2 separate regions of the Homo sapiens genome follow, and region 1 is linked to region 2. Evidence: promoter capture Hi-C in 16 types of primary human blood cells and fetal thymus (Javierre and others, 2016). All regions are on one chromosome and are shown on one strand. Each heading gives the region's core, a stretch centred on a gene start or on the middle of the fragment in contact. The rest is flanking DNA. Distances are from core to core; before and after follow the strand shown.

What was found. Contacts are between HindIII fragments. The CHiCAGO score rates a contact against its expected background, and 5 or more counts as called.
Region 1: the fragment with the promoter of SPRR2G here is called in contact with the fragment with the promoter of LCE3E in region 2 in 6 of 17 cell types (M1 macrophages, activated CD4 T cells, M2 macrophages and 3 more); the score reaches 8.9 in M1 macrophages.

The regions. Positions count from the first base shown.
Region 1 is chr1:153,148,574-153,152,727 of GRCh38, reverse strand. It overlaps SPRR2G (small proline rich protein 2G), which reads left to right and starts at 1,838. Exons shown (of 2, transcript NM_001014291.4): 1 at 1,838-1,876; 2 at 2,597-3,146. The coding sequence starts at 2,618. The coding sequence ends at 2,839. The HindIII fragment of the contact is 711 bases long and covers 1,188-1,898 here.
Region 2 is chr1:152,565,361-152,569,576 of GRCh38, reverse strand. It overlaps LCE3E (late cornified envelope 3E), which reads left to right and starts at 2,797. Exons shown (of 2, transcript NM_178435.4): 1 at 2,797-2,839; 2 at 3,348-3,923. The coding sequence starts at 3,369. The coding sequence ends at 3,647. The HindIII fragment of the contact is 4,975 bases long and covers 1,656-4,216 here.

The sequences.
Region 1 (4,154 bases), core at 589-3,088, 580 kb before region 2:
CAACATGAGAAAGAACGCTGTGAAAGTGCCTCACCCATCCCAGGAGCATCCCTGTTCCTTCTGGCATCCCTGAAGTGTGTCAGTTTCCTGATAGTAACTTAGATGACTAAATTGTTTAGTTTCAGAGTACTAGGGAGGGATAACTAGCCTCATGTTGTTCCTCTGAGATGCTGAGAAAGAATTTAATAGTAGGGCTCAACTCAAAGACGTTCCTACCTCTTCAAATTCCCATGTTAGGTCCTCAGTTTTTTTTGTTTCTCTACTGTACCAACCCAATCAAGTTTGAAACATTGCAGATACAACACAGCATTCTTCTGGGTAAAGAGCACAAGGCAAAAATCTTCCCTGAGAGGGGCTTTCTCAGGAAAACAAGGTGCCGACCCTGTAGGTGCTATGGTACCCATGCCGTCTAATTAGTAGTGACTACAGCTAGAAGAATGGGGGATGCAGGGAAAGGATCTTCACTAGATAGGCCTCACTCTAAACAATGCCATTCTTTATTATCTGTTTTTGACATGTTTGAAATTATTGGTTAGTTATGATTAGTTATTATTCTTATTTCTTCTACATTTTAGAGTTTATATTTCTTAGAAGACCCACTATGTAATGTGCATAATTTTAGGCCACTCTTTGAGTTTTTGTAGGAGACTTTTGTGGTAGGTGTATTTTTTATTTCTGTTTTACAGCTGTGTAAACTGTGTTTCAAGGAGGTTAGGAAATATTTAGTTCCACACAGTAGTGGTGGCTGTAGATGTATGCATAACCAAGGTACTCAAGTTTTTTCCAAGTTGGGACAGTGAGTAATACTAGCTGAAGTGTTAATATGGTTAAATAAGCTATACTAAGAAATTATCCGTGGGATCTGTGCCAGCTATACTTTACTTATTTAGGTAAAAACATCCATGAAGTAAACAGCAGGATAAATAGCTTTACAGAACTTCACTCCTCGAATGTGCAAAGAAAGCCTGAAATCCTACTAAATGTCATTTCAAAAGAGAGAAATTGTGAAGGAGTAAATTGAATTAGCATGTAGGAGAAAAGCTTCAAAATGGATGCAGCACATACATTAAGGCAGTTTGGAAGAAAATGGGAGAAGATGAGTTTGGATTTCTAGTAGACCACAAGTCACTCATAGTTACAAGGGCCACAGAGATGAGGTTAGTGTGTAAATCTGCAAATGTGAAGCTTTAAGAAGGGGCCCCAACATGACTCTAATGGCCTAGAAAACTGAGAGATGATGTTGCCTTGTTCAAGCCCATTAATACCATGTCAGAACACACCCAGGTTGGGGCTGTCAGCATCTAGGAAGCTGATATATGATTTTGTCACCCTGTTCAAGTCAATTAATTGTCAAGAAAAGCCTAAGGATCAATAGGCCATGATAAAAGGGGAAGTTAGTTGTAAAGAAAAACTGCAGTTGAGGGTTAGGATATAGCCAGGCTGCAGGATCAGCACATACTGGTCTCTACTAAAGAGAACACAGCTAGATACTGGGCATGTGCAACTGAATGGGAGTAGTTTTACATACAGGATACTTTGGAAGCTGGGAAGTAGGAGAAGCACCATCTCTAATTATAGGGAAGCACCACAATTGTCAGACAATTTGTCACGTTCTACAATTGCCACTGGCATGAGGAACCTGAGATAATGTCCCAAGTGAATCACTGTGCACTTATCCTGCTGGGGAGGATCATGGACTAGGAATTTTGTGATACCAGCATGGATTACATGCAAGTGGTATTTTGGTTGGGAAATAAGCACATCATGCTAGTCCTGGGCTGTTCCCTGTGTAGGGCTGCCTGCCCCTTATAAAAGGACTCTCCACCACACTGATGCTATCTTCTTGCCATTCAGTTGTAGATCTTTGAAGACTCTGGTGAGTACAAATATTAGAAGCTTTTCTTGCACTTGGATGGTGTTAGGGTCTAACCTGGGTACAGAAATGCCTGTTTATTTTAACCAATTTATCCTCATGGATAGGAAAAAGAAGATAATGAGGTCTTGAAGGTAAATTTTAGCTGGTATTTGGTAGATAAACATGAAGGTGATGAGGAACCTGGAGTCAAATATATAAAATCTTAAACTGAAGGAGAGTGAGAGACACAAGATGCTGTTCTGTCTCCTGCTTCACATCTGTTCCAAATACATCTCTCTTGGAGTGCAATCTCCTTGGGTGATGGGTGCAAGTTTTTGCAATTCTCTTAAAAAACTCATGGCTCAGCACCACAGCCAGCTCATTAAAACTGGTAACTAGGGCCTCATGGAAGATAAGAGCACAGATTTGTTTGGTATTGGCTAGACTTTTAATATCTGAGTTTTTCTTCTTCAGATAGTGTTTGTATTCAGACAACATTTGTTGCTGTCTCATAGGCAATTTTATTTTCAGAAAATGGTAGAATGAGAGAACAGCCAGAAAGACGGAAGAACTGAGGGTAAGAGGTCCTAAAAGTGAAGTGTGAAGAAGGTTCACAAAGTCATAAAGACTGTATTAGGGATCAAAGTTGGTCCCTAGATACTGGAGATTTGATGTCCTAGCTAATTGCTCCACCAACAGGACTGTCTCTCTTATGAGCACTGTTTCGTATGTATCTTTCAGATTCTCTGAGACTGAGGAGAGATGTCTTACCAGCAGCAGCAGTGCAAGCAGCCCTGCCAGCCACCTCCTGTGTGCCCCACGCCAAAGTGCCCAGAGCCATGTCCACCCCCGAAGTGCCCTGAGCCTTACCTGCCTCCTCCTTGTCCACCTGAGCATTGCCCACCTCCACCATGCCAGGATAAATGCCCTCCTGTGCAACCATACCCACCCTGCCAGCAGAAGTATCCACCCAAGAGCAAGTAACATCACTAGAATTCATCAGGACCATGAAACAACAAGATCCAGTGGCTCTTCTTACTCCCAGGACTCCATCATCTTCCCTTCAGCTGTAGTGGGAGGCTGCATCTTCCCTAACCTCTGTCTGGCTTGAGCGTTGACAGAGAAAAGGCTTAGTTCTGAAAACCGATATGTTGTTGGAAGATGAGCAGCCAGATCACTGCCTAATCTCGCTTTGCTGTCTGTGATGTAGATGGTGGTTCCTATCCTGAGAGCAAGTGTGTTTATTCTTTTGCTTCTCCCCAATAAAGCACATGTTTCATGGTCAAGCCCACATTGCTTTTGTTTGCATTTCGTGTCTTTAACCTCTTCTGTTAACTACACCAAGTGAATGTTCCTTTTCATTCCTATTGAATTATTAGAATTATTAGGCTTTTCCATCACTGAATTCAGTGTTGCGTGCAATGTGTGTTTTGGATTCGGTACAACAAATAATTCTCTTTTATTGGTTTAAAACTCATTTTTACCCCTTCTAGCTTGTATGGCTGAAAAAATTACCTAAACTCTCTTAGCTTCAGTTTCATCATCTGTAAAAAGTAAGAGAGCATGTATTCAGCTGAGTGTACTCATAGCAATTGATTTATTCACAAATGTTTCCTAATTGTCTATCATGTGCCAGCCAGTCTTCTATGCACTGCTGATAGGGATAATGATGACCAAACAAAGTCCTTGCTCTTATAGAGTCTACAGTCTTAAGAGAGTTACATATCACCCCCACCCCCCGACCCCCACACACCTCCCACACACAGGACAAATTATAGTAATACATGGGCTATATTTAAAGAAAATTATTTAGAAAGACCCTTTGAAGTGACTTTTGGCTCAAAGACATGAATGAATAGAAGAGGGAGCCATGGGTATATCAGGGGTAGATTGTTCCTGTTGGAAGAAATGGCCAGTGCTAAAGAAATACAAAATAACATTAGCCGGGCGTGGTGGTGGGCGCCTGTAGTCCCAGCTACTCGGGAGGCTGAGGCAGGAGAATGGCGTGAATCCGAGAGGCGGGCTTGCAGTGAGCCGAGATCGTGCCACTGGACTCCAGCATGGGCGACAGAGCGAGACTCTGTCTCAAAAAAAAAAAAAAAAAAAAAAAAAAAAGAAATACAAAATAACAAAAAGGAAAATGGTGGTCAAGGAGAAATGTCTGCAAATGAGGTCAGAGAGGTTGGATCTCTAGGATACAGTCATGATTTCGATATATACTTGAAGTTTGACAGCCATCTTAGGATGGTCAAAGTCTTGAAATTTTATTGTACATAACTCAACAATTGTATATAATTAC
Region 2 (4,216 bases), core at 1,548-4,047:
AATTAAAAAGAATTTCTTAAAACAACCAAATAGAAATTTGAGGCTTGACAAATATAATAACTGAAATTTAAAATTGACTAGAAGGGCTCAACAGCAGGTTTGAACTAGAAGAACAAATCAGTGAACTTGAAGATAGGTCAATTGTGATTATCCAACCCGAGGAACAGAAAGAAATAAGATTGAATAAAAATTAACAGAGCCTTCAGAGGCCTGTGAGTAACCATCAAGCCCACCAACATGTTTATAATAAGAATCCCAGGAGGAGATGAGAGAAATAAAAAGACAGGAAGAATATTCAAAGGAATAACAGTTAATTACTTATCAAATTTGATGAAAAATATTAATCTACACATCTAAGAAGATCAACAAACTCCTAGCAGGGTATAGTCAAACCTCTCCACACCTAAACACACCATAGTACAAATGTCAAAAGACAAAGAGAGAATTTTTAAAACAGCAAAAGAGAAAAGACCCATCATATACAAAAAAAATTAATAATAACATTAACAGCTGGTTTCTCATCAGAAACCATGGAGGACAGAAGCCAGTTGGATAACACATTCAAAGTGCTAAAGAAAAAAAAAGTAAACCAAGAGTTCTATATCCAGCAAAACTATTCTCCAAAAATTAAGACATTCCCAGATAAACAAAAATTGAGAAAATTTGTTTCCAGAAACCCTACTCTACAAAAAATACTAAAAGGATTAATTCAGTCTGAAATGAAATAACACTAGAGAGTATTTGAAATTTTTATGAAGAAACGAAGAGCATTTGTAAAGTTAACTACATGGTAAATATAAAAGACAGTATAAATGCATTTTGTGCTTTTAAGTCTTTTTTCTCCAATTTGATCTGAAAGACAACTGCATAAAGAAATACTTATAGAACTGCATTGATGGCCTTCTAATGTAAAGATATGATTTATATGACAATAACAGTATACAGAAGGGGGAGGGAACAAACCTACACAGGAGCAAAGCTTTGCGTGCTATCAAAATTAAGTTGGTATTGATCTGAGTTATAATCACTGTAAGTTAAGATGTTAATAAGAACTCCCAAGGAAACCACTAAGAAAATAACTCAAAAAATATACTAAAATATATAACATTGAAATTAAAAGGGTATACTAGAAAATGCCTGTTCAATAAAAAACAAAGCCATAGTGAAGAAAAAGAGGGGCAAAGAAAGTTATGAAATATATAGGAAATAAATAGTAAATGGTAGACATAAATTCTACCTTAATAGTAATTACATTAATTGTGAATAGATTAAATACCCCAATCAAAAGGCTAAGACTGGCAAAATGGATAAAATAGCATGAACTAACTATATGCTATCTATAAGACACACATTTTAGGCTCAAAGACAAAATAGATTCAAAGTAAAAGGTAGAAAAACATACACCATGCAATGGTAATCAAGAGATCTGGAGTGGCTATACAATACTGGACGAAATAGACTTTAAGACGAAATTAATGGCAGAGACAAAGAGGACATTTTATAATGACAAAAGGATCCATATCTATTAAAGAAATAATTATTATACATATATATGCACCTAACAATGGAGTCCCATATTACATGTAACAAAGACTAACAAAATTGAAGGGAGAAACAGACAACTCATAAACAATTTAACAATAATACTTGAAGCTTTCATACTCCACTTTCATTAATGGAAGAACAACTAGGAAGAAAATCAACAAACTGAAGACTTTAACAACACTATAAACCAATTAAATCTAACAGACATCTTGTTGAACACTCCAACCACAATAGCAGAATACACATTTTTCTCAATTGCACATGGAACATTCTGCAGGGTAGACCATTTGTTGGGTCATAAAAGAAGTATCATTAAATTTTAAAACACTGAAATCATACAAAGTATCATCCGTAACCACAGGAGAATGAAACTAGAAATCAATAACAGAAGGAAAACTGGAAAATTCAGAAATGTCTTAAGCAACCAATGAGTTCAGAAAGAAATCACAAGGAGAATTAGAAAATACTTTGAGATGAATGAAAATAAAAATACAACATACCAAAAATTATGGGATACAGCAAAGGAAATGCTTACAGGGAAATACATGGCTGCAAATGCCTACATTAAGGAAGAAGAAAAATCTCAAATCAATTACCTAACCTTCTGCCTTAAAACACTGAAAAAAAGAAGAAACTAAACATAAAGCAGGAGGAAGGAAATAATAAAGATTAAGTTTGTAGCTGCATTATTCACAATAACCAAAAATTGGAGCTAACTCAAATGTCCATCACTTGATGAATGGTTAAATAAAACGTGCTAAATTCATAAAGTGAAATATTACTCAACCATAAAGAAGAATGGAGTTCTGACACATGCTACAGCATGGATAAATCTTAAACAATATATTAAGTGAAAGAAGCTAATGCAAAATGCCATATATTATATGATTCTATTTATATGAAGTGTCCAGAATAGGCAAGTCCATACAGGCAAAAAATTGATTACTAGTTGCCAGAGGGGCAATGTGGAATAAGGAGTGACTACTAATGAGTGGTGATAAAAACAATTGCTTCAAGGAAGGTAGGATTGCAACCCCCAGCAGGCCTGAATGAGGTGAAGGTAAACAGGCGTCAGACCTTCCTGGTTCCCTCTTGTCAGGCATCTTGGTGAGTACACAGGAAGGTGATGAATGGATAGTCTCAAGGGTGTGCCTGGCTGTCACCTCCCCTGGTTGTGAAAGCAGCAGCATGCCCAGCCTGTGCATCACACACCCTGCACAGGATAAAAGCACTCCTGCCCTGGGCTCCTCCACAGTCTCCTCAGGAACAGCCTTCTCCTGCCTCTCTGCACCTGGTAAGTATTCAGCAGGGGACAGGGCTTGATATGGGATGTTAGAACAGAAAGCTAAGGCCATAGCAGAAGAGATGGAAACAGAGAGGTTTGAAACAAAGACCCAGATACAGGACTGTGAGAGGGCAGCAATGGGGGAAGGGGGCAGGAGGGAGACCCTGCAGGAACTGACAGCAATTCCATGACCTGCAAAGGCCACAGAGCTCACAATTCCCTCCCATCCTCTTTCTACTCAGGCAGGCACATTTCCTGTAACATCCATTCTACAGAATTCTTTTTCCCAAAAGGGTGCATTCCCTAGGGGTTCTTTGGAGAAACAGAAACACACGTGCCCACTTAGACTCACAGCAATCTGTCCCGGGTGGAGAGCAATGTGAGAAGTATCTGGCATATCCCACCAGCTCCACATCAGCTTCCCTCACCCTCTTGCAGCTCTTGCCTCAGGAGGCAGCTGGTCTTAGAGACGTTGGACTGTAGATTTTGAACTAAGAAGTGGCTTCGTTTTCTCCAGGACATCTCAACTCCTGCCAAGATGTCCTGCCAGCAGAACCAGAAGCAGTGCCAACCCCCACCCAAGTGCCCCTCACCCAAGTGTCCCCCAAAGAACCCAGTACAGTGTCTGCCTCCAGCTTCCTCTGGCTGTGCCCCAAGCTCTGGGGGCTGTGGCCCTAGCTCCGAGGGCGGCTGCTTCCTGAACCACCACAGGCGCCACCACCGATGCCGGCGCCAGAGGTCCAACTCCTGTGACAGGGGCAGTGGTCAGCAAGGCGGGGGCTCTGGCTGCTGCCACGGTTCTGGGGGCTGCTGCTGATCCAGATCCTGATGCTGAGACAAGCGATCTTTGGAGGAAACAAGAATCCCAAGAGGCCAAGAACAGCCCCATCTGACGCATGCCTTCCCATATACCCTCTTCTGACTTTCACAGGCTGAGCTGGAGGTTTTCCTGTGGGGGATCTGAGCTCTCCCCAGAAGGCACTTCTTGTTTTATGTACAGGATGTCATATGTCCCCCTACCCCTGTACCTGCCAAGGATTGGCAGTGCTTGTGCCCAACCTCGTAAAAAAGATAAAGTTCCTTGTCCTCATTACCACCAGCGTCCCACTGGGCATTTCACAGTCTCTCTCCTCAGCTCTTTGGTCAGTACAACCCAGCTCAGGAGCCAAACCTTATCTCTGCACCAGGAAAACATAGTGGATCCGACCCCGCTCCACTGATGGAAGGGAAGGGGAGAGTTTTATGTTGTAGTGGGAGGGAGAGAACGACACAGGTTGTGCTGGTTTGAGGCCCTGAAACTCAACCTCAAACTCAAAGAGGGTATCAGTGCAAAAATTGACTTTTCCTGTAAAATCTGAGAGGACATTAATACAATTGGGGAATTTC